Linked DNA regions of Homo sapiens: all the other regions are linked to region 4. The links are contacts of gene promoters, found by promoter capture Hi-C in blood cells and fetal thymus (Javierre and others, 2016). All regions are on one chromosome and are shown on one strand. The core of a region is centred on a gene start or on the middle of the fragment in contact, and the rest is flanking DNA. Distances in the headings are between cores, read along the strand shown. Region 1 overlaps FAM162A (family with sequence similarity 162 member A). Region 2 overlaps MIX23 (mitochondrial matrix import factor 23). Region 3 overlaps FAM162A (family with sequence similarity 162 member A). Region 4 holds the start of PARP14 (poly(ADP-ribose) polymerase family member 14).

What was found. The method cuts DNA at HindIII sites, captures the fragments that hold promoters and counts their contacts. A CHiCAGO score of 5 or more calls a contact.
Region 1: a fragment that was not itself captured here is called in contact with the fragment with the promoter of PARP14 in region 4 in 11 of 17 cell types (activated CD4 T cells, total CD8 T cells, naive CD8 T cells and 8 more); the score reaches 9.9 in activated CD4 T cells.
Region 2: a contact is called between a fragment that was not itself captured here and the fragment with the promoter of PARP14 in region 4, in 3 of 17 cell types (non-activated CD4 T cells, activated CD4 T cells and naive CD4 T cells). The highest score is 5.8, in non-activated CD4 T cells.
Region 3: a contact is called between a fragment that was not itself captured here and the fragment with the promoter of PARP14 in region 4, in 2 of 17 cell types (activated CD4 T cells and total CD8 T cells). The highest score is 6.7, in activated CD4 T cells.

The regions. Positions count from the first base shown.
Region 1 is chr3:122,407,539-122,411,103 of GRCh38, forward strand. FAM162A (family with sequence similarity 162 member A) reads left to right here. Exons shown (of 5, transcript NM_014367.4): 5 at 2,201-3,565. The coding sequence ends at 2,293. Among named protein-coding and RNA genes, the nearest start is that of WDR5B, 6.7 kb to the right of the region's middle. The HindIII fragment of the contact is 626 bases long and covers 1,602-2,227 here.
Region 2 is chr3:122,368,505-122,371,717 of GRCh38, forward strand. It overlaps MIX23 (mitochondrial matrix import factor 23), which reads right to left. Exons shown (of 5, transcript NM_001017928.4): 2 at 3,171-3,213. Among named protein-coding and RNA genes, the nearest start is that of MIX23, 13 kb to the right of the region's middle. The HindIII fragment of the contact is 1,253 bases long and covers 1,164-2,416 here.
Region 3 is chr3:122,387,841-122,391,325 of GRCh38, forward strand. The region is part of intron 1 of FAM162A (family with sequence similarity 162 member A); the gene reads left to right. Among named protein-coding and RNA genes, the nearest start is that of FAM162A, 5.4 kb to the left of the region's middle. The HindIII fragment of the contact is 1,112 bases long and covers 947-2,058 here.
Region 4 is chr3:122,678,949-122,682,570 of GRCh38, forward strand. It overlaps PARP14 (poly(ADP-ribose) polymerase family member 14), which reads left to right and starts at 1,891. Exons shown (of 17, transcript NM_017554.3): 1 at 1,891-2,122. The coding sequence starts at 1,936. RefSeq lists enhancers at 879-998, 1,402-2,174, 1,599-1,998, 2,540-2,629 and a silencer at 2,239-2,288. The HindIII fragment of the contact is 13,941 bases long and covers 1-3,622 here.

The sequences.
Region 1 (3,565 bases), core at 665-3,164, 270 kb before region 4:
TTGGGAACAAGCCTGGAATATCATCCTTGGGGATAGATAGCAAATCCTAACTTTGGCGTGGTGAAGAAGGACTAGATTCATTTTGTGTAATGTAAATTTAAAAAGTGTTTCTGATGACAGGTGTCATAATGTAAATTAAGAAATAGGACACTGGCATATTTAATCACCCACTGCATATTTCCAGAGTGCTCTTGGTACCCAAGTGTATTTACCCTCACCATAACTGCCTTCAGCATGGTGAGCTTTCTTAGCGGGGTTCTTTATTTGAAGCTCAGCCAGACAGGGCCATGTGTCTAAGGACCACAGCTCCTAAGCAGTACATAGGAATACAAGTCCAGAAATCTTTAGCACAGATTATAATTAATAGCTATCACTAATTGAACACTCACTGCATTCCAGGTACTTTTCTAGCTGGTATCTCATCTGAACCTCACAAAAACACTGTAAGATAAGTATTATTAGGACCTGATTTATAGATGAGGAAAACTATAGCTTAGAAAGCTTTAGTAACTTGCCCAAGGCCACATATCTCCTTAATGACGAGCCACAGTGTGAACCTAGACCCAATTCAGGTAATAGGAAAATTCCTCCCATTTATTGAGTGCTTATTATGTAACAGGCACTGTTAAGCTCACTTAATCACCCCCATAACCCTAAGAGGTAAATAGTTTTCCCAAACTCACACAGCTAACAAGTGGCAAGATAAAAATCTAGACCCAAGTTTGCAGGTTACCAAACCTCATACTATACTATCTTGCTATTAAGCCATAGTTATTTTTATATTCAGCAGCTTTGGTCAAATTCTTCTTTTAATACCATGTATAATTCTATATATCACAGCTTCCATGTGGAAAGTGATGTCTTACAACTACTTTAAGATACTAAAAAGGTCCTTCTATACACGCACTCTTAACTGACTTTCTTATCCTCAGTAATTCCAGAGTAAAAGGAAATGTACTTTTGGCTGTCTTCATTCTTGCAGTTAAATGGAAATACTGACCATTTTAGGCTGACCTCATGGGAGTACGAAGGGGCAAATGTGCTGAGCTGGGTGAAGTTCTCTTGAAAACTCTGTTCCCACCCCACTTCATTTTTTCTTGTCTCCCTCTTTGACCTCTCATGCATAGTTCTCAGATTAAAACCAGCAGAAACATGTGGACAGGACTGTGAGCTTCTAGGATTCTGAGAAATTTGCATTGCTTTTGTATACTCGATTGTACTAGCTGAGTTTAAATACTCCAGAAGCAAATTATTCACCTGGAATCTCTTCTAGCATCATCCAGGGGTATATGCTGTGTATTTTAGAGAGTTCTTCTCCTGTTCTTTACCATAAAATTGTAACATTTTAGTTTTATGGAATTTCTGTTTCCATAAATACTACTGGAATGGAGAACTTTTGAACTCAATGTGATTTGGAAGAGAAAAATTAGCCATTGTATATTTTGCTCTCACCATCAACTTCCCTTTCTCCCCCCGCTCCCCCACCCCCCGCCACATACCCAATTCTTTTACATATGAAATTACACAGATAGAAGGAAATATCAGCTTAGGGTGCTAGTTTCACTATTTGGTATAAAAGTGTTGAAACTGGCCTGTATGTAAGCTTCATAGAAATCTGACCGTTTACATGGAGGGAAACAAGGGAAGAGGACGGTTGCCTCCCCCACTCAAAGGTTGGAATTGTAGTACAGATACTCGTGGAAATCATCAATGGTAGTATTTGGGTAAAGTCTGGGATTCCCAAAGCTGAATGTTTTTGGTAAAAGAGAAGTGAGGAACTAGAAGGATCTGAGTATGCAGATAAGTTGGGGAAGGAGAAATGGCAGCAACAGAGAAAAGTGAAAGAAGAAAAACGGGATAGAAATGGCAATGAGAAGGTATTTAGTATAAAAGAGAAGTGGGGTGGAATGAGAAGAAAGTATAAGAGAAAAGGAGAGGATAAAGACTGAAAGAAAGGGGCCAGAAGGGAAGAAAAAGGAGAGGTGTGGCACTTCTTACTTATGCTTGAGTGGATGAGCTGCTGTTCTTGGAAGCGTACGAGGAAGTTGAAGCACATAGAGGAAACTGCCGTGCTCAGTGTGCAAGCAGCAGAGGACTCCATGCCTCCATGCCTCTGTTAACCTGCTGTCATCAGTGCAAGGTAAAGACACCCTCCCCTGACCAGCATACAAATCACCTGTTCAAATCTGTTTTGCTTTAGGCTGCCCAAAGACACGAGACTTTAACAAGCTTGAACTTAGAAAAGAAAGCTCGTCTGAAAGAGGAAGCAGCTATGAAGGCCAAAACAGAGTAGCAGAGGTATCCGTGTTGGCTGGATTTTGAAAATCCAGGAATTATGTTATAACGTGCCTGTATTAAAAAGGATGTGGTATGAGGATCCATTTCATAAAGTATGATTTGCCCAAACCTGTACCATTTCCGTATTTCTGCTGTAGAAGTAGAAATAAATTTTCTTAAATAATGACTGTGTTTTATTGTTTTGATCCAAGTCAAGTGTAGCCTCTCAGCCTTTTGGAGAAAAATGAAACAATTTATTTCAACTTGAATACCAACTCTTCAGAGAAGCAGGTACCATATCTTACTTCTCTTCCCATTATCAAAGTAACCTCTCCACAGGCGAACTCATTTTGAGGAGATAAGGAAGGCCAGTTGAGTATATGGCCCAGGTGCAGCTTGGAGGGCCAGCCTTCTCAAATGTCCTGGTGTACTGGTGGGGAGGCTGCCCCCTAATAGAGCGAGCGCTGAGAAGCAGCCAGACCACATTCTATAATCTTTGAACATGCTGGCAGATGGAGGCTTTTAGGAGAATAGTTTTTTAAACATTCTGACAAGGTCCAGCCAGGAATTTCTAAGGACTTAGAAATCCCAGCGTCATGGAGTTGCTTGGGGTCAACACAAGTCACCTCTTAGCTTCATGCCTTAGAATTCTCAACTGGCTGTTTTCTTACCACCTGAGAAACTAAATTTCTCAATTATAAAAATCTCATGTATTATTACTGTTAGAAGTATTTGCACCTCATATATATCTCATTTACAGTTTGACCTTGGGATATCGAGTTGTCTCATATTTAGGTATGAATACAGGTTTCTATTTTAAACATTGATTCTCACATGCTTCTTAATTATTCATGGATGACAAGCCATTATAGTAGTCCCTTCTTATCCACGGCTTTGTTTTCTGTGGTTTCAGTTACCTGAGGTCTGAAAATATTAAATGGAAAATTCCTATAACAATGCATAAGTTATAGATTACATACCATTCAGTGTAGCATGATGAAATCTCTTGCCAATCTGTTCCATCCACCTGGGATGTGAATCATCCCTCTCTCTGGTGTATTCACACTGTATGTGCTAGCCGTCTCTGTTACGAGATCAGCTGTCGTGGAATCAGTGCTAGTGTTCAGGTAACTCTTATTTAATAATTGCCTCAAAGTGCATTGTGCTGTGCCTAATTTATAAAATAAACGGTATCATAGGTATGTATGTATACGAAAAACATAGTATATGCAGGGTTGGGTACTATCCACAGTTTCAGGCATCTACTGGGGGGTCTTGGAATATATCC
Region 2 (3,213 bases), core at 540-3,039, 310 kb before region 4:
CAGCATCTCTGAGGGTGGAAGGTATGAGGTCTGGGGCTGTCCTCTTCCTCAATATGCTCCTGGTATTGACTTCAGCTTTCCTTCTGCATTCCCCAAGCTGGGCTTTTCTCACTTCAGTTTCCTCTGCCCTACACCACTGACTTTCCCCATGATTCCATTCATGTGTTCCTCTATTCTACAACCACCCGCACACACCTGGCCACTTAAACGGCTATTCTTCCTCTCTTTGTCCTTTCATATTTTTTCCTGTCTCACATTGTCAACAAGTGAAAGAAATTATAAACTAAGTCATGTATAGAAGATTTCATTACAATAAATAACAAAGAATGCTACCTTTACCTTCGCAAGACAGAGCCCTTTTCAAGATTATAAAATATAAGTATTGATAAGGAAAACTTATATATGAAGCACAGATTAGTGGTTGCATCAATTGTGTGTGCTTATTGAAATTAAGGATGTCTGACAGAACAACTCTTGATAACCTCCATCTTAATGCAACAAATTAATAAAAACATTTCTCATTTATTTCCCATCTTGATTCTAAAGTATCATGGTCATGTTTCAAACATACTTCCATAATCATAGCCACATTTTGATAATACCCCAAAATCTGCATTTGTTAAACATTGTTTCAAGTTCATAGACTCTATTGTTCAGTATTGATTTTTATGTTTACCATGGGAATAAACAATGTAAAGCTAGAAAAATGTCATAGATTGAAGGGAATATGCTCTAATAAGATCTCATTGAAATTTACAAGTTTTACCTTGAGTATACTTTTGAGATTTGAAATTTCTAAAATGAGTGCTTCATAATAACCTTACTGATCAACTCCTAGGAAGAAGCGTTATTTGAAAAGGCAAATATCCCTTCTTCAGCTACAGAAGGAAGCTGGGTCAGGGATTAAAGTCAGGGTGAACATGAGCAACTTGGATATTTCATAGAGTTCTGCTTCTTGACTGACATAATACTTAAGGGAACTCAGTGGTGCTTATTGGTATGGGCACTCTGCTGCAGGCTCGATCCCTGGCACAAAGCTACTTGAAAAATTAAGCTTTACTTGATATACATGTTGCTGAATCCTTCCAGGATATAGATACAGAGAAAAACTCAAACACACACACAGGATTTCCAAAACAGAAGAGTTCTAAATTTAGTATGCAAGCTTATCCTGATTCAACAAGGAGATAAAAAACAACAACTTGTGATTCTCACAGGGCCTGTTAAAAAAAAAATGATAGCAGTAGCAGCAAACATTTTTTTGAGACAGGGTCTTGCTCTGTCACTCAGGCTGGACTGTGGTGGTGTGATCTTGGCTCACTGCAACCTCTGCCTTCTGGGCTCAAGCAATCCTCCTGCCTTAGCCTCCCAGGTAGCTGGGACTATAGGCGCACACCACTACGTCCAGCTAATTTTTGTATTTTTTGTGGAGATGTGGTTTCGCCATGTCACCCAGGCTTGTCTTGAACTCCTGGACTCAAGTGATCCTCTCACCTCAGCCTCCCAAAGTGTTGGGATTACAGGTGTGAGCCACTGCACCTGGCCAGCAATATTTGTATACAAAACACTTAGTACTGTAAGCACTTTATAATTCAATGCGCCAACAACTCTATGAACTAGGTACCATTATTATACTATTTTACAAATATTAAAACTGAGGCAGACAGCCGGGCATGTTGGCTCACGCCTGTAATCCCAGCACTCTGGGAGGCCAAGGCGGGTGGATCACTTGAGGTCAGCAGTTCAAGACCAGACTGGCCAACAGGGTGAAAACCCTATCTCTACCAAAAAATACAAAAAAAATCAGCCAGGCATGGTAGCGTGTGCCTGTAGTCCCAGCTACTTGGGAGGCTGAGGTGCAAGAATCATTTGAACCCAGGAGGTGGAGGCTGCACTGAGCTGAGATTCTGCCACTGTACTCCAGCCTGGGTGACAAAGTGAGACACTGTCTCAAAAAAAAAAAAAAAAAAAAAAAAACTGAGGCAGAGGTTATGTGACATAATCAAGGTTACCCAGCTAGGAGGTAGCAGATGTGAGATTAATCTAGATCTAGAGTCCATATTGTTAATCACTACACTATAAACGTCTAGGTTAATAGGAAGATTGTAAATGGAAACAATTTTATAGATTATGGAGATTATATGAGTAGTGAGGTGAGAGAGGGAGTATCACCAAAGTGACCATAAATTCTAGTTCTTCAGACAGAGGTACCCAAAGAAAGTGAACTGTCAAACAACCTCATAGCCAATTAGGACTAGGTCCCATCCTGTCGACTCCCAATACTGAATTCTACTCATTAAAGTCCACAATCTTATGATTTTCTCAAAGAAGACTTACCTGCTCATTTAAAATAACATACTTTAACACAGAACAAAAATATCAGTAGTTAATGCTCTGAATTTAACTGACATGGATAAGCTTGTCCAAAACTGATCTGAGAAAGGCAGTTTAGGTTTTAAGGATGCCTTCTTTACGACTATGAATCCAAACAGTAACCTTGTGGTAGAGCTTAAAATAGCAAGTGTCATTTGAACTTTAGCTTCCAAATTACTAAAAGAATATAGGTAAATAAACTATAAAAAAGATTTTGCTGCATCATTATTTCCTTCTGCTTTTGGAGACTAAAAAAGAGAAATAAAGGGGGGCAATGAAAAATGTATACTTGAGAAACCAAAGCCTCAGGAAAGGACAACTGATCCACTGGCTTTCCTTCTCTCCCAGTTGCCAAATGCTTCTATTCCCCTTCCTGAGGAGTGAGAAAAAGAAGGTTTAAAGGTGTGAAGGGTTTTAATTCTTCCTTGTACCAGCTGCCTGGCTTTTTAGGACTGACGTGCTCACATTCCTTGCTCTTGTTACTGTTTTACTTCACTGTTTCACTCTCCTCCTTTCATTCCTTTGTACATAAGGTCTCCTTAAGTTAAAGGCTACAAAACAACTGCTCCCATTCTTTAGAACCATTTCTTCCCAGGTTTGGTAAGATTTCACAAGCGTAAGGTCACACATTTTCTTTAATGTGTAGTAACCAGATCAAAACTTATATACACCATCAGGTATAGGCAAAGAAAAGATGTCATTCCTTTAGTCACAGTCGAGTTACAAGATAACTGATTTCTTATTCAGCCTGCAAAGAAAGGCATGAAAGAAGCAAAAGACTCAAAAAATACACTTACAGACTCATAAAGTTGTTTACAGGTTTGGCTGGCATCAATTTTC
Region 3 (3,485 bases), core at 253-2,752, 290 kb before region 4:
GAAGGCTCCATTGAAATGAAGGGGTGTGAGAGTGATGTGAGCACATGTAGGGGCGGTAATGAGTTGTGAGCACATGTAGGGGCGGTAATGAGTCTGAAAAAGGATATGAGAGAGGAAAGATTACCTTAGGGATTTTGATCAGGAGGCAATAGGAGGTAAAGTGTAGTGTTTGGAGACGTTTGAACCAAATGAATTTGGACCAAAAAAACCTTTTAGCAGGAGAAGTAACACAAGAAACATTTCTGGAAAATTAACTCAGCAACTACATACCAGTTGAATTGCTGCTACCTATGAAGATATTACAGTAACTGATGTGTGAGGTGATGATGGAAATAACGAATATATTTAGGAAGTGTCTTGAAGAAAGGATGAGTTTGGAGATACTGAGTAAGGAAGGACTTAAAGACAAGTTTTTTAATGTTGAGGACTACAGAAGTATTGCCTCATTGTCAGAAATAAGAAAGTTGGAAAAATAATCAGAAACGCCATCAAAGATTTGTGTTAGTTTGGCAGAGAAGATGGTGCATTATTGAGTAGGTTTAGGTGGCACTGAGTTATAGGTTGTGAGAGGTTGAAGACCTGAGGGCAAAGGAAGAGTAAAGTTATGGAGATAAAGATATGGGAGCAATTAGTCTGGAGTTGATTTTTAAAACAGAATGGAGGAGTCCTTCCAGAGAGTAGCACAGAATAGAAGCAAGGACTAAGCCTTGGAGGTGTGACATGGTGTAAATAATAGGAACTGGGAAAGAAGACATTAAAGAAGATTGGTCATAGAGGTTGGAGATGAAGTGAGAGAATTTGGTGGTACAATGTAAGGAGGCATTGAATCCTTGTAGAAAGATGAGATCAGTCGAATCAAATGGCCACAAAAATGGGAAGAGTAGAGTCAGAAGGGCTAATGATGAGAATCTAAAAAAATGTATTCATGACCGGGCACGGTGGCTCAAGCTTGTAATCCCAGCATTTTGGGAGGCCGAGGTGGGCGGATCACGAGGTCAGGAGATCGAGACCATCCTTGCTAACACGGTGAAACCCTGTCTCTACTAAAAACACAAAAAATTAGCCGGGCGTGGTGGTGGGCGCCTGTAGTCCCAGCTACTCAGGAGGCTGAGGCAGGAGAATGGCGTGAAGCCGGGAGGCAGAGCTTGCAGTGAGCTGAGATCACAGCACTGCACTCCAGCCTGGGCAACAGAGCAAGACTCCGTCTCAAAAAAAAAAAAAATGTATTCATATGACTAGAAAGAGGTCACTAATGTTGGTAGAGTAATTTTAGTAAAATGATTGGAGAAGGAAACATTGTAGCAAAATAAAGTGTGGGTGGTGAAGTGAAGTAGTAGATACATGCCATTTATTCAATCATTTGAGCTATGAAAAAGAGGAAATAAGAATTTTATTAATAGTACCTGTTGAGAACAAGTGAATGCTTTGTCCAACATAGTGGACCTTCAGTGTTATTGTAGAGTAATAAGACAGAATTCTCAGTAACTACTAGTAGAAGTTACTGGAGAAGTAGTCAGCCTTTCTGGAAAGTAGTATAGATGGATAGATAGATAGATAGATAGATAGATAGATAGATAGATAGATAGATAGATAGATGAGATAGATAGATGGAAACTTAAAGGGGTTCATACCCTTTTACCCTTCACTTCCAGGATTTTATTCTAAGGAAATAATCAGAAATACCATCAAAGATGTATGTAGAGAACTGTTCATTGAAACATTACTTATAACACTGAAAAATTGGAAAGAAATCAAGTTGTAGGGAATTACTACATTCAGATTATAGCTGTGTGTCGGGTTTTATACAGCTATTAAAAGTATTAATATCTTGGAAAGTATTTGTGACATAGCAAGATACAGTATTATCTGATTATGAAAAATGTATATGTTTTATGTAAGTATAGGAAAGGTCTGAAAAGAAATATTAATGCACCAAGTTGTTATCCCTAAGTGCTATGATTATGAGTGCTTTTATTTTTCTTCACATCTTTTTTTAACTTCCAAATTTTCTGTAATGAGCAAGTGTTACTTTTATCATTTAAAGTTTGTTTTACTAAAAGCTTTTTACATAACATGGTGTGTAACAACTTGGTGGTACAAAGGTTTTTACATAGTGAGACCCGATCTCTACAAAACAAATTTTTTTAATTAGCTAGACATGGTGGCATCTGCCTGTGGTCCCAACTACTCCAGAAGATGATACAGGAGGATCGCTTGAGCCCGGTTCAAAGTTACAGTGAGCTATGATCTCTCCACTGCCCTTTACCCTAGGTGACAAAGTGAGACCTTGTCTCTAAAAAAAAAAATAAGTTTTTTAGTTTTGATTTTAAAGATGGGGGAGATAACATTTGGCAGGAAAAAGGCAGTGGAAAATAAGGATAAGTTTGGTACGACATCCCTCAGCAGAGGGATTACTACTTAAGAATAAAGGAAGACTGGTATTTCTTCAAGCCTGCAGGGAAGGATGAGAAAACGGATATAGGGAGTCTGTTTCTGTCACAAAGCCCAGGTCAACAGCTAAGGCCTAGAGAGTTTCAGATAGACACTCTGGGGAGTGGGTTGTAATATTGATTCTCTGATTCCCAGAGAGTTGTCATATCTCCAGTCACATCACCTATGGTTTTCTCCAAGAGGACCTTGAAAGATTCTGAGAAAGAAAAAGCATCCCTACCTTTCCTCACTGTCTATCATGGGGTTGGAAAGGATATTTATGGAAAGGAGGGGACTACCAGGAGAGAAGCTGGTACTTCAACCAGCCTCACCCTGGCTGACCACTATAGCCTCCAGCTAGCAATGATATTTCTAAGGCACTGGTTTTCAGATTATGGGTCCCCCATAGCAGAAGTTTCACCATTACCTGGGCAATTGTTAGAAGTGCACATTCTCAGGTTCTGTCCATACTGACTGTATCAGTTGGGTCCAGTAATCTGTTTCACAGGGTCCCCCAGGTGATTTCGATAGATAAAAAAGTTAAGAACCTTTACTCTTAAGATTAGCCGTTTGCCACCCAGAGCCTTAGAGACAGCTGTGAGGCTTCATCTTAACTTCCTGCTAGGGCCCTGGAGACACAGAATTGGTCAGCCAGGGACAAGCTGTTAAGTCCAGCTAGAGGGTTAAAGGGCTGTTTTTCTTTTGGTTTGTATGTTTTTAATCGTGATCCACCAGAGGATGGAAAATTTCTGGCTTGGACGTCTGGTCAATATATTCTGTCTCTTTGAGAGAAAACGAAGGTCTTAGTAATGATATTAAAGTTTGTTTATGCTTTCATGTTGTTATAATTGCAAAATAAAAACCAAGACCACATCAAATACTTCAGACATTTTTTAGCGATAACTTTTTAAAATTTAAAATTTTATTTTATTTTATTTTTGAGAGAAGGTCTGGCATTATCGCCCAGGCTGAAGTGCAGTGGCATGATCTCAGCTCTCTGCAACCTCTGCCTCCAGGGCTCAAGCCACCCTTCTGCCTCAGCCTCCTGAGTAGCT
Region 4 (3,622 bases), core at 641-3,140:
TTTCAAGACCTGCCATCCTGATCCTCTGATAGCTCCTTCCCAGTCCACCCAGGCATGATAAGCAGACCTCGGTGGTAAGACACATTGTCGATAATTAAATAAATCCTCGAAAGTAATCCAGAAATGCCTCTGACTTTATTTCTTATACAATAATTATGTGAGGAAAAAGGGAAACTTTTTGCTGAGTTCTGGAACCCCAAACTCAGGGGAGAGTGGGAGAGGAGGAGTGCTGATTTTAGTTGTGGTTTGGGATGAGATGTAAAGGCCCTGGGGAGAAACAGTCACCAAGTCTGGCTGAGGGCGCTTGTCCTCCCGTCTTCCGCATGCGGGGGTCCAGAGCAGTTTTGGATCAGATGATGAGCGCCATCTGCAGGTAGCAAGCTGGAGGCAGGAGAAAATATCTGTGTACTGTTTAGGATTATTACAGAGCCGAAATAAAAGCCAGGTAAACCATTTGGCCCATCTCTGGTTCTCTTCATTCTGAAATTCAGCCCGATCCTGTAACCCCACAACCTACTGCCTGGCTCCTTCTTCCCCTTCACGGTCACATTTCTGCAAAGAGCGTGTTACGCTCTCTGCTTCCACTTCCTTCCCTCCCTTTCAGTCTTCAGTAGCTGCCATCTCCCTCTCCTCCCTCCTCACCAGGAGACTATGCTTGCCGCTCCTCAGCAGTCCAGCAGACACTTCTCTGACCTGAGGTATCGGTAGCACTGGAATGATAATCCCCCCGCCCCCCTCGACTTGCAACACTGCTTTATTTGGGGTCAAGGAAACACACAGCCCCAGCTTCTCTCCCATCACTCGGCCTCCCCTCTTGCAGATGCCACTATTATCCAGCCACTTGCACGGGCCATCCATGGCTGACCATGGAGTCATCCTTGAGCTTCTCCTTCTCTCAAGGCTCACATTCTTCAGCAAGTCCTGCTTTCACTATTAATTGAGAATCCTCGTTTTCTCAGTTCTTCTCTGCCAGCACCCCAGTCTCAGCCACCCTTGTCTCTCACTTAGGACACTATGGTAGCCACTTGGCTGATCTCTCTGCCTCCACTCTAGCCACCACGCAGCAGCCGGAGTGATCCTGTACATGTGAATCACACCGTGGAACCCCACTTCCTAACCCTCCAAGGCTATCCCCTGATATCCTGGGGTTATCAGGTTACATGTCACCGCCCTATAAACCCTCCCTGAGCCGCCACAGCTGGACTAGGAGCCACTCCTCATCTGTTCCAGGAACACAAGTATATTCTTTCCCAGAGCACCTATTGCCCACTGTGTTCACCATAGCTCCGTGAGCTCAGCGAGGGTTCAGTGAGTGAGTGCATGGCGCCTAGTAAATATTCCACAAAAAAAACTGTGAGTGTAATTGTTTCCCCCACATTTCTAGACATGTAGTATTAACAGATCAAGGAACAGAAAGCAAAACAGGGAAAGCAACGTAAAATTCTGATAATCACAATGATTGCTGAAAAAGTCCCCAAATAGGCAGCAAACATTCTAAAGGGGCCACAGTTTGTGAGTCATTTTATTCTTTTGTAAAGGGTCGGCTTGCGGCAAAAATTAAATGATCTTTGCGTTTGGGCAAGGTCTGGTGCCCCAAAGCTGCCGACTTGATCTGCGGTTGGGGCGAGCGGCAGGTAGGGGGCCCGGAGTTAGGAGGGGGTGTGGGAGCCCGTGGAGCACAGGTGAACTGAGGCCGCCTTCCCGGGGCGCCGCTGGCCAGCCCCAAAGGGTTACTTTGGCCTTGGCTGTGGGCCGAATGCGAAGGTGGGGAGGTGGGCGGGGGATGACTCTGCCATTCCTGGGTCCGCTGTGTTAGGCTGAAGGCAAAAGGAAACCAAGGCCTGGGAGTTTTCCAGGAAACGAAAGCGAAAGAGTCAAAGTTAGCGGCCCGGAGTTGGCGCGGCCCCTGCAGTCCGGCGGAGAGCGGAGCTGAGGATGGCTGTGCCCGGCTCCTTCCCGCTGCTGGTCGAGGGCTCCTGGGGCCCCGACCCCCCGAAGAACTTGAACACCAAGTTGCAGATGTACTTCCAGAGCCCGAAGAGGTCGGGAGGCGGCGAGTGTGAGGTCCGCCAGGATCCCAGGAGCCCATCCCGCTTCCTGGTGTTCTTCTACCCGGAGGACGGTGAGGGGCGCGAGGGGTGGGGTGAGGAGGGGGCACCTCTGCCCTCCCTCCAGGGAAATGGCGGCAGGGCACGCACGGGAGGGTGACCCGCCCGACTTCGGCGGCTGCTGTAGCGGAGGTGGCCGGGGCGGGGGCGGGGGCGGGGGCGGCAGAATGGATTCCGAGCGCACCCGGGGCGCTGCGGTTCCCCGGCGCCCTGCGCTTCCAGGCGCTTAATGGCGCGGCCCGGAGGTGGCGGCGGAACCGCGCAAGTAACTCTTTATCCCTCGATCGTTTTCTGTCTTTCCCTGTTGTGGTGGTGTTATTGTTTGTTGTTGTTGTTGTGGAAGTGAGTCTATCCTCTTATCATCCTTTTCTGTCTTTTCCTGTTGTTATTATTCTTGTGTGGGGAAGGAAACTGATTAAGAAACGTGGCAAGTCACAGAGATTCCTTGTGGTTCTTGGAGATTCCCAGGGGTCCCGGGGTCACTTGGGAGAGGGGCAGAGGCGCTACCTAAAATCACACTGCCTGAATGTCAACGTAGAGCCGTCACAGCGGCCACATTGGAGGGGCTGTCGATCGACCACAGGTGCCCATTGTCGAGGGCCTGCCGGGGCCTCTTCTCCGAGTCTCTAGTGGCCCTCAGATTGGGAGCAAGGATGATATTCTGAAGTGATTGTGGGTTGGGAGATTTGAGCTTTGGAGGGAAAGTCGGCAAAGTTCCCTCCTTACAGACCCACCACTACTTGGTGGGCCAAGAGCCCAGAGGTGATCTGCTGGCTCAAGGGCCTCCCTGGTCTGCAATGGGAAGCCAGTGACCTGCAGCTCCCAGAATGGGCACCTTTTCCACTGGCATCTTATGGATGATGACCTATCGGGATCTAGTCAACCCCTAATTCCGCTTTCATGTCGCTAGATTTGGAGAAGCATTCGGGCCAGAGGAGAGGCAAGGAGGCTGAGGCTGAGGCCATGCAATTAGAGTGCCCAAGCAGGGATCCAAAAAGGAAAAATGAAACAGAAAAAGAATGGCGCACAGAAGGAAGGAAGGAGGGGGACAGGAGATATGCTTGGCTCATGGCCCTTATGAAAACAAAATACCATGTTTTCCTAGGATTAATTTTACCAAGGAGTGCTCAGAAGGGCAACTGTGTGATATTAGTCATTTCTCTTTTGGGTGTCACTTTTCCTTGAGGGTTTTCCCCACTTTGACTTCAGAGGTCAGCATCACCATCGATCTGGCCCTTAAGGATGCTTCTTTCTCCTTTAGATTCCATTATCCTTAGAAGTAGGTCTGACCTGCATCTGAATCACCTGGAGAGCAGGTTAACCAGGCACCTTCCCAGCTCTGTTTTAGAGATTCAGGTTCAGTGAATGTGGGGTGGGTGGGAAGCGTGTATTTAACCGGCAGCCCAGGTGACCCTAATGTGTTCAAGTTTCAGAATTTCCGTAGTTAATGTTAACCCCAAATGAACAAAAAGAAATAATTATACAAATTTAAACAGCATGAAAATACAAATAGC